4 separate regions of the Homo sapiens genome follow, and regions 1, 2 and 4 are each linked to region 3. The links are contacts of gene promoters, found by promoter capture Hi-C in blood cells and fetal thymus (Javierre and others, 2016). All regions are on one chromosome and are shown on one strand. The core of a region is centred on a gene start or on the middle of the fragment in contact, and the rest is flanking DNA. Distances in the headings are between cores, read along the strand shown.

Evidence for each region. The method cuts DNA at HindIII sites, captures the fragments that hold promoters and counts their contacts. A CHiCAGO score of 5 or more calls a contact.
Region 1: a fragment that was not itself captured here is called in contact with the fragment with the promoter of CERS1 in region 3 in 1 of 17 cell types (total CD4 T cells); the score reaches 5.3 in total CD4 T cells.
Region 2: a contact is called between a fragment that was not itself captured here and the fragment with the promoter of CERS1 in region 3, in 1 of 17 cell types (erythroblasts). The highest score is 6.3, in erythroblasts.
Region 4: the fragment with the promoter of ELL here is called in contact with the fragment with the promoter of CERS1 in region 3 in 1 of 17 cell types (non-activated CD4 T cells); the score reaches 7.3 in non-activated CD4 T cells.

What each region holds. Positions count from the first base shown.
Region 1 is chr19:18,500,719-18,507,611 of GRCh38, forward strand. The region is part of intron 1 of ELL (elongation factor for RNA polymerase II); the gene reads right to left. Among named protein-coding and RNA genes, the nearest start is that of ELL, 18 kb to the right of the region's middle. RefSeq lists enhancers at 1-694, 3,915-3,964, 6,703-6,893. The HindIII fragment of the contact is 9,226 bases long and covers 1-6,893 here.
Region 2 is chr19:18,480,313-18,486,815 of GRCh38, forward strand. The region is part of intron 1 of ELL (elongation factor for RNA polymerase II); the gene reads right to left. Among named protein-coding and RNA genes, the nearest start is that of ELL, 39 kb to the right of the region's middle. RefSeq lists enhancers at 3,306-3,806, 3,807-4,307, 5,155-5,740. The HindIII fragment of the contact is 4,478 bases long and covers 664-5,141 here.
Region 3 is chr19:18,894,133-18,900,590 of GRCh38, forward strand. It overlaps CERS1 (ceramide synthase 1), which reads right to left and starts at 2,026. Exons shown (of 8, transcript NM_021267.5): 1 at 1,692-2,026. The coding sequence starts at 1,940. It overlaps GDF1 (growth differentiation factor 1), which reads right to left and starts at 2,026. Exons shown (of 8, transcript NM_001492.6): 1 at 1,692-2,026. COPE (coat protein complex I subunit epsilon) reads right to left here. Exons shown (of 10, transcript NM_007263.4): 8 at 6,249-6,317; 9 at 5,741-5,815; 10 at 5,382-5,594. The coding sequence ends at 5,547. RefSeq lists a silencer at 1,027-1,076. The HindIII fragment of the contact is 17,655 bases long and covers 1-6,458 here.
Region 4 is chr19:18,518,001-18,524,317 of GRCh38, forward strand. ELL (elongation factor for RNA polymerase II) reads right to left here and starts at 4,070. Exons shown (of 12, transcript NM_006532.4): 1 at 3,921-4,070. The coding sequence starts at 4,055. RefSeq lists silencers at 2,754-2,803, 3,534-3,843 and enhancers at 3,059-3,574, 3,575-4,090, 4,234-4,563. The HindIII fragment of the contact is 8,691 bases long and covers 527-6,317 here.

The sequences.
Region 1 (6,893 bases), core at 2,093-4,592, 390 kb before region 3:
GGAACATACCATTGTGCAAAATAGCTCTGGGAACTGTCAGGGGCCATACAAAGCTCACTATTTTTCAACTCAAAAACACTGCTTTAGCTTTTTAATACGTCACTGAGGTACACTGAAGCATACCCAAGACTCTCAAAAACAGCCTAATACAGTTTGAGTGCTTCAAAAAATACCAGCCAATTTGCACACAGATCACACTCAGGAAAGTGAACACATGGCGGCTGCTCGCCAAATTCAACTCCACAGAGTTGACTCTGTGACTCCACAGAGCAGAACCTGCAGGGAAGCAGGCCAACCTCCAACCACCGAACTTGGGCCAAAACTCACAGCAGGAGAGGCAATGCCGTCCCATCCCAAGCATGTGGGCGCACACCCAGGAGAAGAACGAGCGGGCCACGACACTGTTCTCGCCAGCTATGCCTGTGGGCAGCAAGCAGCACACCTCCAGGGGCCACGTAGACAACCTGTGACACAGTGAACCCCACTCCACGCCAAACCACCCAATGGGAAACAGTGGTGAGCACAGCCATGGACCACAGAGAGTAACGCAAGTGGGCAAAACACATGAGAAGCCACCAAGCAGACCCGGATGAGAGCAATACTGTGTGTGCCCAGCACCAACACCAAATTAAGAGGAATCAAAAACCCTGCTGAGCGAGAGAACGTGGGAAAGGGCCTGGGATGGGCCCACTGTTGGCGAGGAGGGGCCCACGCCTCAACAATGAGGCGGACCCTCCAACGTGCCTCACACTTCAAGGCAGCTCTTCCAGGCCAGCCGGGGCCTTGGAGTGAGGGGCCACTGGCAGAAGGGAGCAAGACACTGGTCCACGGCACAGCCAGCTCAGAGCCAGGCGGATGAGACGGGGGCCAAGCCAGGGGCCGGCTACTCACGAGTGCACACGAGGACAGCCAGGATTCACTAGGACAGGATCTGCCCAATCCCAGGCACTTCCCACTGGTCCATCTGACACACCTGGGGGCCCAAGAGGTGATGGCATCACATAAAAGCAAAAGAAACTTGAAACCACCAATCCAGGCAAATTCGGACTCTCCCACAAATGGTCCATCCTTGGGGAGCATCTCCCCCACATCCTCAACCTCCAGCTACGTGTCTGCGGGTGGGCAGGAAGGAGGGGAGGCAGCATGGGCACCAGTGACCAGGACAGCCCTTTCCAAAAGAAGGCCCTGAACACAGTCAAGAGGAAGAGGAAGAAACACTGGGGCCTGGCGGGCAGGTCCTGGGGCCTCATGAGGGTGGTTTGGGGTCAGAAGACACACGATCAGGAACCAGGCGTCACCCCCAGAGGCTGCTGGAGTGCGTCCCACAGAGGCATGAGCAGCACCTGGCATGGGGACAAGGAGCTTACAGCAAGTGGGAGGTGCTCTGGTGCTCTACGCTAAGCTGCCTGGTGCCCCACAGCTCCACGGGGCAGGAGCACCCGGGAGGCTCCTACCACCACAGCCAGATAGCCCATTGAGGACGCACACCCCCAGTCCAGCACCCAGAGGTGAATGAAGGATTCCAGGACAGCAAGGGAGACACATGACCACCCTAGGGTGGACCATGGAACAGCTGTGGGTACACAAAGGCTCCCTGGAGCCATCATCCGTGGAGAGCACCAACTACGTCTTCTGAGTTGTGGGCAGGCCAGGAGGGGAGGGAGGTGTCCCAGGTGAGGGCCAGGCCTGTGGTGACTGTGCCTCGCAGTGGGCAGGGCTGCCAGAACCCAGCAGTGAGCTCACCTTAGTCAATTCTGCCAGCGGGCACCCCCACCACCAGGGAAATCCTGCAACCAGCCGCATCAGGAGCAGACGTTTATAACTAAAAGATCAAATATCCCCAACCACAAAAGTCCCAGTAATCCACACATGGGACTTCCCAAAATCCCATCTCTGAGAGATGACAACTGAAGAAGCCGAGGAGGAAGAGACGGTGTTTAAATGAGAGAGAGGGCCCAATGACAACGGACACCAGACACCTGCCACTTGTCATGTTGCAGATGCCAGGAGGAGGAGTGGGAACACGGGGTGGCAGCATGGGTTAGTGTTCTGCAAAGAAACCCAATGACCTTCCTGTTTTTGCTTCTGAGACAACTTAGGGAAGGAGTTTTGGGCCATCAATGCGGAATCCAAAAGCCCCTGTCTTGGGAAACCACGGGGCCACCTGGCCGGGTGTGCCAATGCCCAGCAGAGCTTCGGTTATTAACAGGGCAGGCCAGCGCTCCAGGCAGGCAGCTCGGCACTTCCAGTGGCTGCACACCCACCACACACAGGCACAGGGCTGGGAGGCACTGCTCGGCTCCCTGGGCCCTGCCAGAGTGGCTCCCTATCACTTGCTTATTTTATAAAGTGGCACTTTACAGCTGGTTTAATGTGGTAAAACAGGAACCTGGCTTAAAAAGAAAAGGGAACTCGCACTGTGCCAGGCTGGCACCCAGCGCAGGGACATCCCTGTAAGCATCCGTGGTCTGGAGAGTGTCCAGTGGCACCGCCCGCCCAGCAGTCAGGGCCGCGGGTATCTTTATGGCATCTGGGAGGGAGCACCCCCACCCTGGGGTGATAAGTGGGATGAAAAGAAGGTGACAGAGTTTTTCTGTCTTATTTCTGGAAAAGGCAACTGGCAAAGCTGGAGAACAGCAAGGGAGTGAAGCAGACCCATAGGAGCGAGGGAGCCCCAGCAAGTGGGGGGCACGTCTGGCCAGGCTCTGAGGAACTGAGCTGCCCGTACTGGGAATCCCAGGCAGGATGTGGGCTCTTGGAGGTGATGGAACAGACAGAACAGGCTATTGCAGGACACACGTTCCTCCTCACCCGGCCCCACCACATGTTCATCTAGTAACAGTTCACCAAGTGAGCTGATGTGGCCCCAGACACCCAGAGCTCAGGGTACGTGCAGAGCCACGGCTGCTGAGCACTCAGGGGCTGTGAGGAGATGTCTGAGCAGTGGTGGGAAGGGACGGGACCTGTTACTCTGGCCACCTGGAGCCAGCGGGAGTGGAGAATGGGCTGTTCCCAAGCACCCGCCTAGGGCTCAGAAACACCACCCTTCCTTGGGTCCTGCCGAGCTTCCCTCCTCAGGGAGCCTTCCCTGCTGCAGGCTGGATGAGGGCCCACGGGACTGTCACTCATCACTCCCGTTCAGAATGCACCTGGCTAACTGGAGTCACACGTGGGGGCCTGGCTGCTGCCTGGCCAAGGTTAAGGACACACACTCTGGCCAGACGCTAGGTCTGACCCCACTCCTATCCATGTGGACAACCCGCTCACTCACATCCCCCCGCCTGATCCAAGGGGCTCACTGAAGCACTGACTCCTCGGCATCCAGGGAGGCCTCGCCTGGTGGCTGCAGCGTGCAGAGGATCTGCGGGCTGTCACGGCGGATGCAGGGGTCAACTGTGCTGGCACCTCTGCTAAGCATGCATCACTTCATTTTGGCCTCCTCAGCCACTTGTGCCAACAGGCCAGGGACGGCACAGAGAGGCTGGAGGGGTGAGGCTGAGGAGGAGGGGAGGTGGGCAAAGGGCATCTGTCAGCCATCTACCTAAGGGTGTGCTCACTGACGCACAGAGGCCACTCCTGCTCTGTTTTTCCAAAGCAATCTGTGACTCTCGGGATTACCCACATCTCAAGTCACATCCTGATTGAAATCCATGACGCGTGGCTTGCTTTGCTAAATTTCCCCTACATTTTCTACAGAGCTCAGCATTCTTCAACTCCCATCTGAAATTGCCATGTACATCTCATCCCTGTCACGTTCATCTCTGCCTGGGAGGAAGGGGAAGTGGCTACAGACTCCAGAACCTGCAGCCTGGGTCCGGTCATCAGAGCAGTGATGCTCTCTGTCATTGGTCAGCAGAGGTTAGGCCCACCTGTCAGGCCTCAGAAGAGCCTGGCACCGCCCACAGGGTGGATCAACGGGTTAATAAGTCACAGCAGAAAACCTGAGGCTCGACTTTAAATAAACAGAACTCTCCCAGCTGCATCCCTGCCAAGGCCCGAGAGTGACACTGGCACATGAGCTATATCTCCCCCCACCAACACACCCCATGGGCTGTCATGAGAAACACTGCATATACCAGAACCCATTTACTCTGGGACACTCTCCACGGAGCCCTGCCACCACCTGTCCAGTGGACAGGGCCTGAGGGACACAAAGCCCCCACAGCCCTGAGCACCCGAGGAGCCACCTGGCCTGGGGATGTGTGATGCCTGCGCACAGGAGGCTCTCAGCCCACAGCTCCAGCAGAGGAAAAAACTCTTGCCTTGTGGAGACAACCCAGGCTTTGACTATTCTGGGCTGCCAGGGCTGTGGGAGCAGCAGGTCAAGGTTCAGGACATCTCACCCTCCTGCCATCATGGCCAAACCTCAGGCGACTGAGAACGATGGGCAACTTCTGTGTGCCAGAGGGCAGTGACATACCAGGACATCAGGGGAACACAAGCCACTGTCCCGTAGCCCCCACTCCTCTCCCATCCTCTCCTCCCCTCCCCTCTCCTCTGTGGTGTGCTTTCTTCTGCATCTGCCACAGCTCACCCAACAGCAAATGCAATCCCAACTAGTTAGGCTCTTGTTAGGACTGAAGATAGCTTTTGCTATTCTTCTCTACTCAATTCTTCATCCTAAGGATGCTGTGGCCAGTCACACCCTCCCACGGGCAAGGGCACCCGGCAATAAGCCCCAGCTACTGCCATTACTCATCCCACTTCCCAGGCAGGCAGGAAGGCAGGTGTGCAGAGCACTGGGCAGGGCCATAGTACCTGTGCCACACACACACATGCTCTTCACCTCATCCAGAGTTTCCTAGGTTTTGGTGCTTCAACAGCCCTCAGTAACGCAGGCTCCTTACTATGAGATAGCCTGGGAGAGAGCTGGGGTTTCTGTGATGGGAAAGGGCTAAGCCGGGAAAGGAAACAGTGTGTGACTGGCGCCTTGCAAGCCACCTAAGGCACCAGGCACACACAGGGGAGGGGAGAAGAGGACGGGAGAGGAGTGGGGGCCACGGGATGCGGCTTGTGTTCCCCTGATGTCCTGGGACACAGCTCCCTGAACCCCAAAACACCCCACGGACAGGAAAGCAAAGTAAGGAGAGGTGAATGTGAGTTGCAGGAGGGGCTGCAGGCACTGACCTGACCTCCCACCCACAGGATGACCCCACACAGCAGAGGGAGAAACTGAGGCCCAGAGGGTGGCACCACTGTACAGTCAGGTACCCCCACCCTGTGTCCTGCTCTGTACTACACAGACCACCCAGCACACATGTGGCCAATACCAGTGAGGCAAAGGTGGCAGCCTGGGCCCCCCATGCTGGCCCTCAGCCATCCCTGGGACAACAGTCTAGACACCCAGAAGCTCTGCACCTAGGCCCACTGACCCAGCCTCCCTCCAAGCCCTGGGTGCCCATGTGTGCCCAGGCTGCTGCCCCTGGCACTCAGGCCATGCCACACGCAGCAGCTGGGTCTGAAGCCTGGCTTGGAACCAGCCCCCCACAGTCAACATGGAGACAGCCCTGCTGGCACCGCCCCAGGCCTGGGCCCTGTCTCCCGCACCCTCCAGCGACCTGCCTGGGCCACCCTCAAGGTGCGCCTGCTCCTAAGCCGCCTCCCACAGTGGAGGGACACCCGGGCTGCTTCAGAGCAGACTGTGGCAAGTTACCCTCTCCCCCAGGGGGAAAGGGATCCAAAGCTCCTGTGCCTCTGGGGTGCAGCATCAGCCCAGACTTCTGCTCGGCTGGGTGCCATGGCTCACGCCTGTAAGCCCAGCACATTGGGAGGCCAAGGCAGGAAGTTCGTTTGAGGTCAGGGGTTTGAGACCAGGCTGAGCAACACAGGGAGACTCTGTCTCCATATAAATAAAAAATTAGCCAGGTGTGGTGCCACGCACTTGTAGTCCCAGCTATTTGGGAGGCTGAGGTAGGAGGATCACTTGAGCCCGGGAGCCAAGGCTGCAGTGAGCTATGATCACACCACTGCACCCCAGCCTGGATGACAGAGCAAGACCTCGTCTGAAAAAACAAAAGCAGACTTCCGTTCAACAGCATGTGAACCTCACCTTGCACACCTAGGAGTTCGTTACCCTCCTCAGCTCAGAGATTAGAGGGAACTCTCCCCACAGAGATGCTATGATCAGAGGGCCAGGGACCCTGTCTCATTGATCCTACGCTCTACGCCAGACATCGCCTCAGAATCCTTCTCAACACGGCTCCACTTCCTATCTACAAGGAGCTGGCCTACAAGATGGAAGCGATTCCTACATTATGGGGTCATGTGGCTCCAGGCACATGGCCCTCGACCAGTGGGAGCCTGTGCACAGGTAAGAGAGCCAGGGCAGCCTGGAGATGAGCTGGACACAGGCTGCCAGCACTGGCTGTCCCCTCCCACTTGCCAAATCCAGTGTGAGCTGAGCACATTTCACTGGAACAAGCAGGCGTCTGAGAGCATCCAACTCCAAAAATAGTGCCACCAGGAGAGGAAGGAACACGCTCTTCTAGCTGCACCCGCTCCCTGCCCTCAGATACCTCCCTGCACAGTCTGTGCCTGGCCTGTGGCAGTTCAAGGGTCACACCCAACTCTGAAAAGGGAGAGATAACATCCCCAGATAAGAAGAGTGAAAACAGGCCAAGTCTGCTGCCAGAGCCTGGCCACAGACCCACAGCCCCTTGGCAGAGAACTGCTCAGGAAGTCCTCCTCTGAGTCTTTCAAGCCACTGGTATCTAACAAAGAATCTAATCTGCACACGGCACTTGCCCCGAGCTAAGAAAGTTCTGGAAGGGTCTCCTAGGTCTCCCCAGCCCAAGGTGAGCTTGCTTCTGTGGAGGGAGATGCCTGCCTGCCCATGTCCACCACCACTGCACACCAAGCCAGTCTGAAGCCACCATGATCTGGCTGTTGCTGGT
Region 2 (6,503 bases), core at 1,653-4,152, 410 kb before region 3:
ACGGAGAGTTTAGACAGTGACTGAGTGGGGCTGTCTCCGTGAACTACAAAACAAAGGAAGATCTGCCCAGTGAGCTTGGTTGGCTCAGGGACGAGCTAGGGAACTTGGACAGACACATTGTGGACCTCACTGGTTCCAGCCTAGGGAACCAGGTGGCCACGGTCAGGGCAGAGCAGAGGGCAGGACCCACGGCAGCTCCTCTGCCAGCCTGGGAGGACAGATGGTGTGTTCAGCAGGCCAGGTGGGCCTGTAAGAGCAGGAAAGGGACTCCAACTGGCTACAAGCCAAGTGTAATTCAGTGGCCGGCATAGCAAGTATTTTTTTTCTTTCTTTCTTTTTGGAGATAAGCTCTCACTCTGTCACCCAGGCTGGAGTGCGGTGGTGTGAACACGGCTCACTGCAGCTTCGACCTTCTAGGCTCAGGTGATCCTCCTGCCTCAGCTCCCGAGTAGCTGGGACCACAGGCACACACCAACACACCTGGCTAATTTTTCTATTTTCTGTAGAGATAGGGTTTTGCCATGTTGCCCAGGCTGGACTTGAACTCCTAGGTTCAAGCAACTCGACAGACTCAGCCTCCCAAAGTGCCAGGATTACAGGTGTGAGCCACCGCACCCAGCCCGCAGCAGATATTTCTATCTGCATTCACGAAGGTGCATAGAAAGCTTATGGAAAAGGGTTTTTCAGAAATCTTGTAGACAAAAATATGCAGATTGCCCAAAACTGTGGCCTCTACACGCTCCACGCACCTTGCTTGCTTTTCCCAGGACAGCACGCTGAGCAGGCCACCTTCCTTTCTGCCCAATTTCCTGCATCCCCACTTGGAGACTGACCCTCCCCGCACCCTCAGCAATCCTGGATCTGTTTTTTTGTCCCTATGGTTTTGCCTTTCCAGAAAGTCTTATCAATGGAATCACATAAGATGAGTTTCCCGTGGTCCTTGCAACAACTGAGCATAAACTTGTGGCTTAAAACAATGGAAACTGGTTCTCTCACGGACTGGGGGCCAGAAGTCTGAAATCCAAGTGTTAGCAGGCTCCCTCCTTTTGGGGGCTCTAGGGGAGGACCTTTCCTGGCCTCTTCACCTGCTGCAGGCTCAGGCACTCCCTGGCTTGTGGCTGCATCACCCTAATCTCTGCCCACTGGGGTCATGCAGCCTTCAAGTCCTCTTCTGTCTACATTAAATCTGTCCCTCTCTTACGAGGACACTTGTGATGACAAACAGGGACCACCCAGATAATGCAGGGTAACCTCCCCATCTCAAGATCCTTAACCTAATCTCATCTGCAAAGTCCCTTTTTCCACAGAAGGTTACACTCACAGGTTCCTGGAATCTGCTGTGGCCATGATTCAGCCAACCACCTACTCAGCATGACGCCTTTGAGATCCATCCTGTGTGTTGCCCCGCAGTATAAATACGCCACCTTCCCGTGCATCCATTTGCTGGATGAAGGACACAGGTTGTTTCCAGTCTGGAGAATTAATGAATCAAGCAGCTATAAATACTCATGGACAGGTTTTTCTGTGGACGTGTTTTCATTTCACTTGGTGAACACCCAGGAGCCCGACTGCTGGGTTACAGAGTAGGTGTACATTTAATTTAATATGAAACTGCCAGGCTGGCTCCCAAAGTTGCTGTACCATTTTGTACTGCCGCCGGCAGCGAATGAGAGTTCCTGTTGCTCCCCATCCACGTCAACATTTAGTGCTGTCAGCTTATTTAAAATGTCAGCCATTCTGGTAGGTGTGTGGTGCAGTGACAGCTCGTGGAGGTTCATGTTTGGGTTTCCCTGCTGATTAAGCATGTTGAGCATCTTTTTACAGGCTAATGTGCCATTCTTCTAGCTTCAGTGGTGAAGCTGTACAAATCTTTATCCCATTTTTAAAAATTGGGTCATTTTCTTACTAAGTTTTGAGGTTTTTTTTTTTATATACAAGAGCTTTATCAGATAAATTTTACATTTTACTCCTAGTCCATGGCTTGTCTTTTCATTCCTTTTTTTTTTTTTTTTTTTTTTTTTTTTAAACAGGGTCTCGCCCTGTCACCTAGGCTGAAGTGCAGTGGTGTGATCTCAGCTCACTGCAACCTCCGCCTCCTGGGTTGAAGCAATTCTCCTGCCTCTGCCTCTGCCTCTGCCTCTGCCTCCCAAGTAGCTGGGACTACAGGTGCGTACTACCACACCCAGCTTATTTTTTTGTATTTTTAGTCGAGACGGGTTTTCACCATGTTGGCCAGGCTGATCTCAAACTCCTGACCTCAAGTGATTTCGGCCTCCCAAAATGCTGGGATTACAGGCGTGAGCCACTGCGCCTGGACTGCCTTTCCATTCTCTTAACAGTATCTCTCAAAATACAGAAGTTCTTAATTTTGATGGAGTGGAATTTTTCAATTTTTTTCTTTTATGGGTGGGTCTTGATTTTGTGTCTTAGTTCCTCCCATCTTTTTGGTTTTTGTTGTTGTTGTTGTTGTTGTTGTTGTTGTTGCTGCTGTTGTTTTGAGACAGGGCCTCACTCTGTTGCCCAGGCAGTGGGCAGTGGCACTATCACAGCTCACTGCAGCCACAGTCTCCTGGGCTCAAGAATCCTCCCACCTTATCCCCAAGCAGCTGTGCCACCATGCCCAGCTACGTTGTTTTTTTAACTCTTTTGTAGAGGTGGGGGTCTCCCTGTGTTGCCCAGGCTGGTCTCAAACTCCTGGGCTCAAGCGATCCTCTCACCTCAACTTCTCAAAGTGCTGGGATTATAAGCGTGAGCCATCACACTCCCATCTTTTTTTTAAATAGCTCTATTTTAGGAAAATCCTCCAAACTGCCATTCTTTACCAACTCCCCTCTCCCCTCCCAAACTAGCAGCTCTGGGTAACTCCTGCCTACACCCGTGGCTGCCACAGCCCCCAGTGAAGGGTCTCTCAGATTCCTTTGTCTGCATGCACCCTGGGTCATGACCACAGATGCTCCCTGGATATTCCCCGGATGCCACCGCCCACCTGGCAGTTGCAGTGCAGGGTTTTTGGACACTATCCAGGTCCTTCTTCCAGAAGGCGCTCAGCAGGTGAGCAGAAAGTGGCCTGTGTCTCATGGGAAGCCCCTCAGATGTCTGTCCATTCCTGCGTCATAGCTGGGGGTGGGGGAGCTGCTTGGACTCCCTGTCCGTAGAAATCACAGCCAAATCACACGCAAGGACTCGTGGTACCACAGACGGCCAGCCTCCATCACTAACCCACTCTCATCCTAAACTGCATGGGATCGGGTTCCGGTTGTTACAACTGAGGAAAATGAGGTACTGAGAGAGGACAGGGCTGCCCGAGGTCACAGCAGACCTCATCCCAACCTCACAGGAAAACTGAGCCCTGGGGTCCCCATGAAGATTTCACAACTTATCCAACCTCACATGATCCCAGGGTAGCAGGATATGACAAACATTTACTACACAATTCTTCAAGTTACAGTGCTTCTATGTCCCTGAGCCCTGCTTCATCAGACAGACAGAAGTCTCCCTCCAAGGGAGGGACAAGCACCCTGCCTGCCCTGCCCACCCTGCCTGCACCTCCATGGGTCAATCTCCAGGCATGGCCCAGGCCTGCTTCCAGGACAGTGCATCTCAGAGCCATGCAACCCATGCCTGGCACAAGCCCTCCTGCCAACACCTTAACTTTGCCTTTCCCCCTTATTATTCCACCTTTTGCATCTGCCTTTCTTCAAACAGGGAAAGACGCTGTCGTATGTGGGCACCTGCTGCACAAGTACACTCCATGGGCACCTGGGCCACAGTGTCAGGCCCCTCTGTCCCCTCTAGCGCACTCTGCAGTGTCTGAAACAGAGCAAATCTGCAAGTGCCAGTGTGATGGGCACAGAATCCCGTTTGGCAGCCAGACGCTGTGGTGGCTCACGCCTGTAATCCCAGCACTTTGGGAAGCCGAGGTGGGTGGATCACTTGAAGTCAAGAGTTCGAGACCAGCCTGGCCAACGTGGTGAAACCCCCATCTCTACTAAAAACACAAACTTTGGCCAGGCGTGGTGGCAGGTGCCTGAAATTCCAGCTACCCGGGAGGCTGAGGCAAGAAAATCGCTTGAACCTGGGAGGGGGAGGTTGCAGTGAGCCAAGATCATACCACTGCACTCCAGCCTGGGCAACAGAGTGAGACTCAGTCTCAAGAAAGAAAAATAAAAAATTTAAAAATTAGCCAGGTGTGGTAATGCGCACCTGCAGTCCCAGCTACTCAGGTGCTGAGGCAGAAGGATCACCTAAGCACAGGCGATCGAGGCTGCAGTGAGCCATGGTTCCACCACTGCACTCCGGCAGGGGTGACAGAGAGAGATACTGTCTTTAGAACAAAACAAAACAAAACATAACAAAACCGGCAAGGAAGCACATGAGGCTTCACAACCAATGCTCTTTTGCCTCCACCTGTGCTCCTCAAGAGGAGTGCAAGAGTTTGGTGGGGTTTTGTTTTTCTTTTTAATCATTCACTAAAACTCACCAACAACAGGTACTGGACCTAGGAATTTTGAACGGAAGGCCTTCGAGAAACTGCCCTCTCACCAAACCTGCCTTCTGCCCATGGTCTGCGGTGCCAGATAACAACTGCTTTCCCCCAGACAACAGTGACCATGATCTGATCACATCTGACAATGGAAGAAGCTAAGGGACTGACCTAGGTCACTGGGGTCCTCCAGGGCACAGCATGGGCCTCTCCTAGCCCTGGGTTCCTGACGTTTCTGAGGTGAATGAGAACGCTCTAGGGCCTGACATGGGCCATCCCCTCATCAGAGCCCAGGCCAGGCCTCTGTGGGGGTTGGGTCCCTGAGAATGCAGCTCTGCCTTGCCACTGTGCTTCCTGCTCAGGCAGCTAGGAGGTCCCAAACCCCATTCACCTCCATGGGACTATTTGGAGCCCAGCAGAAGCGGCCCATGGGCTCTCCTCTCCCCAGGAGGCCCCTCCAGGCCTCCATCTCAACTCCCCTGCAGACAAGGCCATGTGTGTGCCTTCGACCTGTCAGTCTGTAGGGCCACCTCACTTTTGGGCCTTCCAAGCTCAACTGCTATTAGAGCGCCTCCTCTCTGCCACACTCCCAAGGCCACCCGTCCTCAGCCTCACCACAGAGCAGACTGGCCCCTTCTGCCGAGCCCCAGTGCACCCAAGCTTTCCAGCTGCCTCCACCTCTCCCCTGAAAACAGCTAACACTCCACTATGGGAGCCCATCTCCTCCCAGGGCCAGGGAGACCAGGGAGACCAGGGAGACCAGGTCTGGCCCCCAACTCTAAGGCTCATCTTAGAGGCGAGATTCAGGCCCAGCCCAGGGTGCCCCATGAGGCCTGGTGGTTGGAGGCAGAGGGTATCCCTTGCCCAAATTCGTGCCACATTCACAGTCACTGGGAAAGCTACGGGGATGGGCCGGGCGCGGTGGCTCACACCTGTAATCCCAGCACTTTGAGAGCCAAGACGAGCGGATCACGAGGTCAGGAGATTGAGACCATCCTGGTTAACACGGTGAAACCCCATCTCTACTAAAAATACAAAAAATTAGCCGGGCGTGGTAGCACACGCCTATAGTCCCAGCTATTTGGGAGGCTGAGGCAGGAGAATTGCTTGAACCCAGGAGGCAGAGGTGGCAGTGAGCCAAGATCACACCACTGCACTCCAGCCTGGGCGACAGAGCGAGACTCTGTCTCAAAAAAAAAAAAAAGAAAGCAAGCTACGGGGATGAAAACAGTTAAGGCACTCTCCTGGATGCATCACGAAGCCCCTCAGCCACTGTTTCTCCCTGAGAGCACAGCCACCCCCTGCTGACCTTGGCAGGAAGCAACAAGCCCCACAGCACAAACACCCCCAGGCTGCCCTGCAGAGGGGGCTCCACCTCGGGTGGGAGCCCTGCAACCTGGGAAGGAATCTGGGGAGGGGCTTCTGTGTGAAGCTTAGCTCAGGGCCCCAAGGGCGGTCAGTGTCAGGCACTGGCTCAACAGGGGCAGGAAGAGAGAGGCTGCTGAGCACCTCGTCCTCAGGCCACTCTGCCCCGTTTCTAACAGTCTATGTACAACAGACCCACCCAAGATGTACTCTGTGACCCAGAGTGGGGGTGCGGTCCTGGGAGTGTCCACTGTGGATGTGACCCAGGTCAGAAGGAGATGGCAGCTTGCCAAGCTACCAAGGCACACACTCAGGACCCAGGAGGACCGTCCTTCCTCCTCCGGTGGTCGGCCACACTCACCAAGGCTGCCCCTGAGGCCCTCAGAGACCCAGGCGGTTCTGAGAAGGGAGCCTGTCTCTGAAGCAGAAACCACGCCCTTTCACGGGGCCCCTGTGTCACGTCAGCCGCCTGGATGATTCACAGCTCCGCACCGGACTCGGCTCTTACCGCCTCATCTCATTGTCTGCTCACTGCAACCTCTGCAAAGCACCCAAACCCCTGTCCCAGAAGATAGGCAAAGATCACAGAAAAATAAGAGGATGCCAAGAGAATCTGGCACCCTTCAAGGCATGACCCGTGGTCCCCAGCCAGTAC
Region 3 (6,458 bases), core at 776-3,275:
GGCAGAAAAAGGGGACAGGAGGCGGAAAAGGTGTCACAGGCGAGGTGAGACCCTGAGGGGACATTGGGAGTGCAGAGGAAGCTGCTGGCTCCAAGGCAGGGGTTGGGGAGTGCGGTGGGTGGGTGGGTGGCGGGGCGCGGCTCCAGAGCTGCCCGGCCAAGCCCCACCCCTGGACAAGTCCCACCCCCTTCCCAGAGGCTGAGGGGGCCGGAGCCCAGAGCACCCAGCAGTTGTCATGGAGACAGCTGGAGCCGGCTCCGGTAACCCCTGGCAACCAGGCTGCTGCCAAGAAGATCAGCTTTGGAACACCCGGCAGCCCCTCCACCCATTTCTGAGGAAGGGCGAGCCTCGAAATGGGGCGAGCACCCCACCCAAGGGGCTGGGGAGGGCCCCCGGGGCTCGGCCCTGGTAGTCTACCAGCCGCCACATCCTCCTGTCCCGCAGGGGTGGGGGACGGCTTGCCCTCCTGGGTCTCGGGCTTCCCAGCTGGAAACTGGGAAGAAGGCAGGGGCAACAAGCAGGATAAAGACCACTGCGGACCCAGGGAGGGGCCCTGGACAGCCCTGTCTCCCCCTCCCACAGTAGGGGTGTGGCTGGGGTCTCTCCCTCATGTGGGTGATATGGGGACGGGAGTGGGGAGAGTGGCAGTCAGACAACATCCCATCATCGACCTCACAAGGGCCAGCCTCTTCCCGGCCAGCAGAGAAAGGCCCCTTTGTTGGCGCTGGGCACATTGTCCCTGCACCCTCCAGCCAGACGGGCGGGGTGACACCAGCTGGTCCACGGGGGTGTCCAGGCCAAGCTAAAGGCCCAAACACCTTCCAACCAGCTCCTGCCACAGCGACCCCTCCCCAGGGAAGTGAGTGGGGTCAGGCGCCAATGTCACCATCATGGTCACTCTCTCGCAGGGGCGATGGTCTCCGCAGAAACTGGGGAATTCTGCTGTCGCCTCTTGGAGGCAGCACAGTCCAACCCTGAAGCCCCGGGCCATGTCACCTCCAAGGGAGCGACCACTGGCGTGGCCAGAGCACCCAGGCCCTTGCCATCCCTGGTCGGAGGGTGGCGCTGACCCCAGATAGGCACAAGGCAGCGACCGGGCAGCTCCTGCCTCTTCCCGATTACAGCGGGCAAGCCGGCCCCGCCGCCGCACGGACCCAGCAGAAAACGGGCAGCGGACCTCGCTCCGGGCCGGGGCGCAGCCCGCATGGCAGGGAGGCGCATGGCGCAGGCCGCGGTGCGCCGAGCCCTCCCGTTCCCGGTCCTGGGCTTCTCAGTGTCTGGCTCGGCCCTGCCGGAAAGAGCGCGCGGTGGCCGGAGCCATCCACCGCGCGGGGCCCCCTGGTCCCAAACTGACCGGAAAGGGCCGTGCCTCGGTCCCCCACGTCTCAAACATCCCACCTGTCTCGGGCCCCCCATGTCCCAGACTCACCCCAGCCCGGCCACACCCCCGCATCTACCCGGTTCCCCCACGCAGCACTGTCTGAAGGGGGCGCGCGGCGGCCCGAGAGACCTTATCCTGGGGCTCCAACGTCCTGGGCCTCTCCAGCCCGAGGCCCCCACCCACGTTCCGGCGACCCCTTCATCCGCAGCAGCCAGCGCTGGAAGAAAGGAACGCGCCGGCGGCCCCAGGTCCCCGGTCCCGGCTTCCCCCAGTCCGGGGTCCCCTCGTCCCGGCCCCCGGCCACACTGACCCGAAAGAGGCGCGCAGTGGCCGCGGAGCGCAGGGCGGTCCAGCCCAGCGCGCCGAGCGCCAGCAGCAGCAGCTCGGGCGGCGCCAGGTGCGCGTGCTCAGCCAGGCCGCGACGCGCCAGCCCCCAGCCGCAGTCCGTGCAGCCCCGCGCCGCCGCCAGCGCGCTGCCCCAGCCGCGCTGCACTAGCTGCGCGTAGCTCGGCATGGGCTCGGGCCCCGTCGGCCCCGCCGCGGGCCCCGCCGCCGCCATACCGCCCGCTCGCCCGCCGTGCCCGTCGCCTGCGCCCGCCCGCGGTAGCCGACGGAGCCGCGCGCCCCGCGTCACGCGCCGCAGCTGGGCCGGGGGCGCGCGGGCGGGAGAGCGGAGGGCGGAGGGGCGGGACCGGCGCAAGCTCCGCCCCGCTGGGGGCGCGGCTGGGGGGCGGCCAGCGGGGACGCGGGGCGCCCTGGAGGCGGGCCCGCGCCCCTGCCCGTTTCCCAGCAGAGAAACCCAGGCGCGGGGGCCGGAGCTGGGGGCCCGTTGGACCTGGACCCCGAGAGACCCCGCGCACCGCCGTGTCGCGCCCCCATGCCTGCCCCGCGCGCCCCCCGCTCCCCCACCCCACCGCGCCGTGCCCGTGACGGGGGGCACGGGGGACACTAGCAGGCAGTCCCCTCGACTGGCGACCCCCGCTTCTCCCGGCCCTCCAGCACGCCACGCCGCTCCCGCTCCATCGCCCCGGCCCGCTCCGACCTCACCGTTCTTGGAGCCCTCGCTCCTTCTCAAGGACCCGAGGCCTGGCACGCCTTGGCACAGTCTTGGGACCATCCCGTGGCCCTCCCGCATTCAGGAGGCGTAGGCTCAATGAAACATTCTCATTCTTCAAAAGGACACGGCCCACGCCAGGGCGTTGGGAGGCGCACCTAGTGGAGACGCAGCTCTCTGCCCTACACCAGGAGCTTGGCAATGGGGTTCCAGCTTGGACGCGGGTACCCTGGGCACTTCCCAGGCATCTTCTTCTGCAGGTCTGCACAGCGGGCTACTGGGACAAAGGTGTGATGGGGGCTGCTGAGATTAGGGGGTTCTCTGAGGGTCACTTGCTGCTGTGACCCTGGGGAACCCGGGGGGGGGGCTCCCCAACATCAGGTTAATACATGAGTTGCAGAGAGGCTGCAGGAGTGGGTGCCAACGTGGGAGGGACTCCCAATCTGGATCGACTGTGACATCATTGGGACCACCATAAGTGACTTTCCAATGCACTGTTCATTGACAAGGCCCTGTGCCCAAAGCCACTGAAGGCCATCGAGGAAGACACTGGTCACCTCTGTTAGGACCGCCATCTCCCCAGGCACTGCTGCACCCCCCCTCCATCCTAGCCCGCAGGATGTCCCCACACCTGGCCTTCAAGGTGCAGGATGCAGGGATGAGTCCTGCAGCAGCCGCGCTGGCTCCCGAACACCTGCACCTGAACTTCAGGGGCACAGGTGAACACACCTTCCCCTTGCCCCACACCGAGTCCCCCACAACACATCCAGGTGGCCCTGCATCTGGCCACTTCTCTGCATCTGCACAGCCTTGCCCCCCGCTCCCCGCCACCACCACCACTACCACCACTACCCTCTTCCGTCTGGTATCCTGGCTTCCTCCTCACCCCACAGAGGTGAGAAGGTGGCTGCGACGCTGTTGGCCTGTTCCTCGTCTGCTTGCAGCCCTCTATGGCTCCTGTTCCACTCAGGGAAAGCCCAAGTCCTCACTGGCTGCCCTCACAGCGCCCTGTTTCCCTCCGCCTGTGGGCTTTTCTGCTGTTCTTCCAACATGCCAAGCTCTGTCCTGCCTCAGGGCCTTTGCACTAGCTGTTCCCCCCTCCTGAAATGCTGTTCCCCTAGGTACCTGCATGGCTCTTCTGCCACCTGCTCAGGCTGCCCCCGACTCTGAAGTCACACGCCCCTCATGTCTTCATGTCTGCTTGGCACTTGTCACCATCTGCCCCTACATACATACAGCTCATTTTTTTTTTTGAGTTGGAGTCTTGCTCCGTTGCCCAGACTGGAGTGCAGTGGCGCAATCTCAGCTGACCGCAACCTCCGCCTCCCAGGTTCAAGGGATTCTCCTGCCTCAGTCTCCCGAGTAGCTGGGATTACAGGCGCCTGCTATCACACCCAGCTAATCTTTGTATTTTCTGTAGAGACAGGGTTTTGCCATATTGGCCGGGCTGGTCTCGAACTCCTGACCTCAAGTGATCTGCCTGTCTTGGCCTCCCAAAGTGCTGGGATTACAGGCATGAGCCACCGTGCCTGGCCCCACTCTTTATTCTTGAACGTGGACTCCATGTGGACTAGGGGCCTAGTGTAGGGGTGGGGCACGAGGCTTGGCCTGGCCAATAGTTCAGGTCCAGCCGGAGGCCAGAGATGTGACTAACGCCACAACCTGCCTGGCAGGCAGAGGGGGACGAGGGGGATATGCTCTCAAAGGTCCAGCCAGGCCTGTGGGGCAGCCGTGGACAGTCCCAGCCACCTCCCTCCACCCTCTCGGCCAGCACTATCTGGTCACCATGGCGCCCATCGGTCACGGGAGAGGCGCCACCCACCCACCCACTAGCCCCAGCTCAGCCTCGAATTTCTTTTTGGCGGGTCCAGCCAGGAGGCTGCCAACGGGTGGGTGCAGGGCAGGAATGGAAGGCGGCTCTACTGGCAGCTGGGGACCAGGCACCCAAGGCTGGGCGGAGGTCAGTCTTGAGGCCAGTGTCCCCCCACCCACCCCAAGGTCTCCTCCCTCCAGAAAGCTCGGCCTGGACCCCTCCTAATGTCCCTGTCCAGGGAGTCCTCTTTTGCCACTTCCCTCCCCTACCAGGCTGGGGGTGGGGGTCGCTTGCTGTCCTGCCCTGGCAACCAGAGACGGGGTCTGGTTTCAAATGAATAGGCCTGGGTGTGGCTTGGGGAAACCCAGTCTTATCTTTTCCCTGGGAGATAAGCCCAGGCCAGGCTCAGAGGTCAAAGGGCATGCATCCCCATCCAGCGCCCCTTGACCTCACAGCCCTGTGCCACCGAGGGACCTCTGCACCGGTCATGCCCACTGCCAGGGTGCCTGTCCCCCTAGAACCTAGCCTGGCAGCTCCTTTTTGTTGTTCGGGTGGGCACAGCTCAATGGTGACATCTGGGAGGCTCCGGCCAGCCCTGCTGCCACCCACCCACCTCCCTCCCTAAATGGTGCGGCCGCCTCTCATCGCGGCTGGGTGCTTGGCCCCAGGACCCTGCCACAGCAGGACTCTGCCTTGGAGGAGGGTTTGCGGGGCGGCAGGAGCAGCACCTGGGGTTAACGCTGACCCTGCAGGGCCCCTCCGGCTTTGCTGAGCTGAGGCCTGAGTTTTTCCTGCCCTGGCCCCCACTTCCTCCAGGCCACTAGGGGTTCTCATTTTGAATCTTGGTGCCCCTCATGATAGCGGCATGACTTCTCTGTGCCTCAGTTTCCCCCGATGCCAACCAGGGCTGCTCAGTGGCCTCTAGGGGCCAGGGTGAAGCATGGGGACAGGGCTGTGCTGCCTCTGGCCTGCAGGAGCAGGTTGTGGCTGTGTGAGGGGCGGGGTGGGGGTCTGCACACCTGCTGCTCGTCACAGACCCTGGTCTCCAGGAACAGCCCTGGATGCCAGTGCCCCAGGACTCTCCCTGAGCGTCAGCTCCCACACGCCCCCAGCAAAGTGACCAGAGCACATCATCAGGTGGAACACCCTGGAGTTGAGATATTTATTAACAGATGGGGGTGCTGGGGGTGGGCTCCTGCCCCCAGAGGGGATGCAGGTGGATGCCGGGTGGGGAGGGCTGCAGGGCTGGCTCCTGGCCTCTGTCCTGGCTTCATGGTCCTGACAGCTCTGGGCCAGCCTCAGGCGCTGGGAGCGTACTGTAGCACCAGCCTGTCAAAGTCGTTCTCCTTTAGCAAGACACATGGCAACACAGGGTGGGGGCAGGGTGTGGGGAGACAGGTGGAGGGAGAGAGAGAGGGCGCATGTGAGCCCAGGCTGAGCTCCAGGCGCCCCCTGGCCTGGTTCTCGGGGACAGGCCATCCCCACCACTCACCTTGGCCTGGTACTCCTTGATGAAGGGATGGGACCTGTGGGCATCCTTCAGCTGGGACAGGTATCGGTTTGTCACCTGCAGGGGAGGCAGGGAGGCAGGTGAGCCGAACACGGGGACCCCACGGTGGCTCTGACCTGCTGGACAGGGGTGGATTGGGGTGAGAGCCACAGTACCCCAGGGGGCTCCTCACCCTGCCTTGGGACTGGGCTGATCTCGGAGAACCTTCAGGGTGGGGGTGGAGGGATGGGCCTGCCCCCTGGAGAGGCGCTGGCATGGAGCTGGCCTCCGTACATGGTGGGGGATGTATTGTGGTGTTCAGGGGAGCAGGTCGGGCAGGGCCCCAGGTGAGGATGGGTTGGGGGGCACAGGGTTTGTGAGGGAGGTGGGCTGCGGTAGGCATACTGTATACAGAGTTTTCCCAGGGGCCTAGGGATTAGGGCCTGGACCCCAGGCTGGGGTCCCAGGGTCTGGACATTAGGGTTGGCCTGGAGCCCTGGGGGCCGCTTACCTCAGGGGGCTTGCCCAGGTGCTGGGACAGGACGATGAGGTTGACCAGCGTCTCTGGGTAGCCACTATCCTGGAGACACAGGCAGACACGGGGAGGCAGGGTCAGCCACTCCAGCCCCCATGCCTGCCCGTCACCCCCACCTCAGGCAGCACCACACAAGGTCACCTCCTCAGAGGTGGGGTGGGACTGACACCGCCCACCGCTCTGCAA
Region 4 (6,317 bases), core at 2,820-5,319, 370 kb before region 3:
ACCTGAGGTCAGGAGTTCGAGACCAGCCTGACCAACATGGTAAAACCCCGTCTCCACTAAAAGTACAAAATTTGTAGGGCATGGTGGTGCATGCCTGTAATCCCAGCTATTTGGGAGGCTGAGGTTGCAGTGAGCCAAGATAACACCATTACACTCCAGCCTAGCAACAAGAGTGAAACTCTGTCTCAAAAAACAACAACAACAACAACAAAAACTAGGCCAGGCACGATGGCTCACTCTTGTAATTACAGCACTTTGGGAGGCTGAGGCAGGGAAATCACTTGAGCCCCGGCGTTTGAAATCAGCCTTGGCAACATAGTGAGACCCCGTCTCTACAAAAAAATTTAAAACTTAGCCAGGTGCAGTGGTGCACACCTGTGGCCCCAGCTACTCAGGAGACTGAAGCAGGAGGGTGGTAGTTCGAGGCTGCAGTGAGCTATGATCATGCCATTGCACTCCAGCCTGGACAATGGAGCAAAACCCTGTCTCAAAAAAAAAAAAAAAGGGGGCCCAGCGTGGCGACTCAAGCTTATAATCCCAGCACTTTGGGAGGCTGAGGCAGATGGATCACTTGAGGGGTCAGGAGTTTGAGACCATCCTGACCACATGGTAAAACCCCATCTCTACCAAAAATACAAAAATTAGCCAGGCACGGTGATGCGTGCCTGTAATCCCAGCTACTTGGTAGGCTGAGGCAGGAGAATCACTTGAACCCGGGAGGCGGAGGTTGCAGTGAGCTGAGATCACGCCAGCGCAATCCAGCTTGGGCGACAGGGCAAGACCCTGTCTCAAAAAAAAAAAAGGAAAGAAAAACTGCACAAAGTCCAAGGTAGAGTGAGAAGGCCAGCAGCTATGTGTACTGCTGCGCCTTTACCTTCCACCACGCTGCTCCAGCTGGCTACCAGGTCAACACCAGAGCCCTCTGGGGAGAGAAAACAGGAGGGCTTCTACCTGGGCTGTTCCCAGAGCTAGGATTACCTGCTCCTGGGAGCCACAGAGAAAGTTCCACAGCAAGTTCCTTTCTAGCCCCTGCCACACCTGAATTTGTAAAAGCCTCTTCACAATTAAAAACTAAAAATAGGCCGGGCACGGTTGGTCACGCCTGTAATCCCAGCACTTTGGGAGGCCGAGGTGGGCAGATCACAAAGTCAGGAGATCGAAACCATCCTGGCTAACACGAAAAATCGCACCACTGCACTCCAGCCTGGACAACAGAGCAAGACTCCGTCTCAAAAAAAAAAAAAAGAAATTAAAAATAAAAGCCCTCTCCACAAGTTGCAATTGGCAAACTATATAACCACAGCATCGAGGAATACAAAACTCTGGCTTCTGGGTGATAGAGTTGTCCACATGAGAGTTTGTCCATAACCAGTATATTTCTCTGGTTACACAATCAAGTTCTTCAAGCCACCTTCCTCAAGCTCACTACCCAAAACCACAGAGAGCACGGAGCTGCCGTGCCTTAGAAAAGTCCATCCACTATACTGCCCCATGGGCAAGATTAAATTCGAAAGTAGCCAAGCTGGCTGGGAGCAGTGGCTCATGCCTGTAGTCCCAGCACTTTTAGAGGCTGAGAAGGACGGATCACTGGAGGTCAGGAGTTCAAGACCAGCCTGGCCAACATGGCAAAACCCTGTCTCTACTAAAAATACAAAAATTAGCCGGGTGTGGTGGCACGTGCCTGTAGTCCCAGCTACTCGGGAGGCTGAGGCAGGAGAATCGCTTGAACCCGGGAGGCAGAAGCTGCAGTGAGCCGGGATCGCGCCACCTCAATGAAGCCTGGGCAGCAGAGTGAAACTCCATCTCAAAAAAAAAAAAAAAAAAGAAAGAAAGAAAGAAAGAAAGTGGCCAAGCCACTTAAATTACCAGACAGCTTTTTGAGAAAAATCCAAGTTTGAATCACCCCAAAATATAATCCAGCCAGCCAAGTTGCTCTGGATGGCTTGGAAAAGTTCTTCTAGGAAGCCCCTCCTGGCTGGTCAACACACTGCCCTACACAGCTGGGCTCCGAGCCAGAGGAGTTTAACAGTCCACAGTTACCTTCACCCTAACATGAGGAAGATCCAGCTTAGAGAGGGGATGTAACCAATACCCTAAAGTAAAAATAGCAGTGTGACAGCATGAGGTGGACACACAGGCGGACCTTCTGGACTGAAAAGCAAGCGAGGGCAGCATCAGAGAGAAGGCGGAGCTCCTGGTTCCTAAAGCACAGAAGACAGTGGTGACCAGGTACCAAGTCCATCGTAGTTATATGACTCACGAGCTCTCCCCCAGCTGTTTCTAGGAAAGCCTGCCTTCCTGCAGGACAAGTCAGAATCGCTCAGGGAAAAAGACCCAGGGCCAGAATTCTACCAGGAAGAGAGGCTCTGGCTGGTCATGGGCCAGCAGCTGCTGTCGCTGCCACTGTCTCCTCCTCACCTGCAGGGGCGCCTTAGCCTCATCTTGGGGAGTCTTTTTGACAAGGTGCGAACTTGCTCTTTCAAAAAAAAATGAAATCCTCATTCCATGAAGGGGAAAACTGCGACACCGGGACAGGGAGGAAATTGCCCAAAGACATGGGAAGAAGCACGGAAGGGGTGGGCACCGGGAGAGTGGTGGAAACGAAACAGGGGGAAGAAATTCTCGGCTTAGCTAATGGAGCTGAACAAGTTCGGGGCAGGAAGAAAGCCACATTCCTTCCTAGTTAGTCTCCCTCCTCCCCCGCCCGCGGCACCCCCCCACCCCCACCATCAACAGTATACACAAACACACACACACGCAGGGAGCAGGGCTCTCTGAGCCCGAGACTAGACCCACCCCCACTCCCTTTAGGGCAATGAAGCCCCCAATTTCCAGAAAAGGAGTTACAAGGTTCCTAAACCACTTCCCCTCGGGACCTGACCACTGGTCATCTGCAACTTCTGACCCAGCACAGACGGGGGGAGGGGGGGCCATGACACAAACAGAAATGAAAAAGGCAGGTTTCTGACCACGGCCCCAGATGCGCCCCAAAGTCAGGCCCAAGAGAACATACACAGCAGCCTCCCCTCCCCACCACCAGCCAGGTGGCAGAACCGAAACGCCTCAAACTTCCCCCAGATGGGCCCAAATCGGCCTCTGAGAAGTTCCAGAGTCAGCGGCCAGATGTGGTAGCCAGAGCTTCCTCCTGGGTGGCAGGGATCCCCTACATGTGCCCTGAGGATAACATCACAGCCGCCCCCAACACTTCCACTCTCCAAGGAACCTCTCTCCGGAGAGAGAGGGTCACCTGGGGGTAAGGGGAGCAGAAAGCTGGGACAAGCTGTCAGTTTCTGCCCAAACTCCCCGTCCCAAGAACCAAAGTGGCCCAACCTGAGTGGCTTCATCGGAACGCGTCAAAGCCAGCCCCCAGCTGCAAAGCCTTCCACCCAGACAGAACAGACCCCCACAAGTGCCTCGCTGACCACCCCCTGCCGGGCACCCAGACGATCGCTGCTTCCCAGGAGGACAGACACAGTCACCCCCACCAACGGCGCTGCCCCGGCCCCAGATGGAAAAGCCCCCAGCTTCCCCCTATCACGGTGCCGGGACCGTGCGGCCCACCGCCTCCTCGCCCCGCCGCCAGGTGCGCAAACTGGACCCTGCCCAGGTGCCCAGCAGGCCAGAAAGGCCCCGGACGCCGCCAGGTGCCGACACCGACGCCCCCCGGGCCCGGCGCGCGAGTCTGGGCCCCTCAGCAGCCCCGGGCCACCCGCCTGTATTGCCTCCTAGTGCTGAGAAGGAACGCGGTTCTCAGCGCTCCAGGCCGGACTGGCGCCCACTCCGCGCCCCGCCGGCCCAGGGACCCGCGAGCAGCACCACAGACCTAGCGTCTCCGAGCCCGGACGCCTCAGTGAGGGGAGCGCGAGGCCGGCCCGCGTCCGGACGTTCCCCACTGGCGCGCCGGGCGCCATGCCACTCACCTGTCTGGCGCGGTAGCTCTCGAAGGCCCTCAGGGCACTGTCGGTGAGCTTCACGTGGAACACCGACACCTTGCTGCCGTCGCTAACCCGCCCGCACGACAGCCCGTAGCTCCTATCCTCCTTCAGCGCCGCCATCTTGCGACCATCTCTCCCCCGCGCCCCCTTCCCGGCTCCAGCGCCGCCACGCCGGCCACGCCCCGCCCCGCCGCCCGCTGACGCGCTGCATTATTCATGAGACGCGGCTGGCCACGCCCCCCGAGTCCGACCAAACCAACAGTCGCCGCCACACCGGCAGGCAGCGCACTACATTATTCAGGAGACGCGCCTGGCCACGCCCCATGAGGGCCCCACAAGGCCCACAGTCAACGCCCCAAGTTGTTGCATATTCATAAGGCACTTATGGCCCCGCCTCTTCAGGCCCTAGGGGTGGCCACTTCCGTGAACGAACTCCGCCTCAACACGCGCACCCCTCCAGGCCCCGCCTCCATAGTATTATACATAACCCTGACTCAGCCAGCCAGGCGCGTCAAAGCCCCGCCCCTACAGCCGCTGACGTGATGCATTATTTATGAGATCTCTACAGTCTTCCGTCTTTGGCTTCTGTGGAAAGCCGCAGAGAGGGCGTGGAGGGGCGGAGCCGGCTCGAAACACGTGGGTGGGTAGGCCCCGCCGCGGGCCGGGAGGGTGGGCGTGGCTATGTAAACGGAGCGCGCGCGTTGGACGCTGGGTTGGACACATAAGGCATCCCTTAGGCGGGGTGGATGGGACTTCCACCCAGGGAAGGTGCTGGACCGGTAGGTGGAAGAGGAGCTGGTAAACTTTTTCTTATGAGATGAGTACTTTTAATAGGATAAAATCCTACATCCCCACAGTCCCTGAGCGATGGTGCAGTCCAGCTTCATTTTCCTATTTTAATTTTTTTTTGAGGGGTCTTGCTGTGTTGCCCAGGCTGGAGTGCAATGGCGCCATCATGGCTCACTGCACCCTCGACCTCCTGAACTCAAACTGATCCTCCTTGTCTGGGTCTGCTGAAATGCTAGGATTACAGGAGTGAGCCACCAAGCCCAGACTTCCATTTTCTTTTCTTTTCTTTTTTTTTTTTTTTGAGACGGAGTCTTGCTCATCAGCCCAGACTGGAGAACAGTGGCGCTATCTCGGCTCAATGCAACCATCGTCTCCTGAATTCAAGCGATTCTCCTGTCTCAGCCTCTCGAGTAGCTGGGATTACAGGCGCCCGCCATCATGCCCAGCTAATTTTTGTATTTTAGTAGAGATGGGGTTTCACCATGTTGACCAGGCTGGTCTTGAACTCCTGACCTCAGGTGATCCGCGCGCCTCGCCCTCCCAAAGTGCTAGGATTACAGGCGTGAGCCACCTCCCCCAGTTTTTGTTTGTTTGTTTGTTTTTAGACAGAGTTTCGATTTCCTTGCCCAGGCTGGAGTGCAGTGGTGTGATCTCGGCTCACTGCAACCACCGCCTCCTGGATTCAAGCAATTCTCCTGCCTCAGCCTCCCGAGTAGTAGCTGGGACTGCAGGCGCCCATCACAACGCCCAGCTAATTTTTTGTATTTTTAGTAGAGACGGGATTTCACCATGTTAGTCAGGCTGGTCTGGAACTCCTGACCTCAAGTGATGCACCCACCTCGGCCTCCCAAAGTGCTGGGATTACAAGCATGAGCCACTGTGCCCGGCCAGCCTTCCATTTTCTAAAAAGCAACTTCATTGAGTCACATTTTACATATAAAATATATTCCCAATGCTGTGTAGCTGTCACCACTATCTAATTTCCGAGATTTTTTTTTCTTTTTCTTTGAGACAGAGTTTCACTCTTGTTGCCCAACCTGGAGTGCAACGGTGCCATCTCAGCTCGTTGCAACCTCCGCCTCCCAGGTTCAAGCGATTCTCCTGCCTCAGCCTCCCGAGTAGCTGGGATTACAGATGCCCACCACCACGCCCAGCTAATTTTTGTATTTTCAGTAGAGACGGGGTTTCACCATATTGATCAGGTCTCTAACTCCCAACCTCAGGTGATCCGCCTGCCTAGGGCTACCAAAGTGCTGGGACTACAGGCGTGAGCCACTGCGCCTGGCCAAGGGAGGAGCTGGCTTGGAGGGCCAACCAGCTCGCTCTGTGATCTTGTGAAAGGCACCTCCTGCTTCTGAGCCTCTGTGGATTCACTTCGGAAACAGGAAACAGCAATAAGAGCAGTACTCAGGACCTAGCAAGGTGTCTCACACCTGAAATCCCAGCATTTTGGGATGCCATGACGGGAGGATCGCTTGCACCCAAGGGCTTGAGACCAGCCTGGGTAACAGGGCTAAGCCCCCTCTCTACAAAAAAATTTAAAAAATTAAAAAAATTAGCCGGGCATGGTGGAGCACCCCTGTGGTCCCAGCT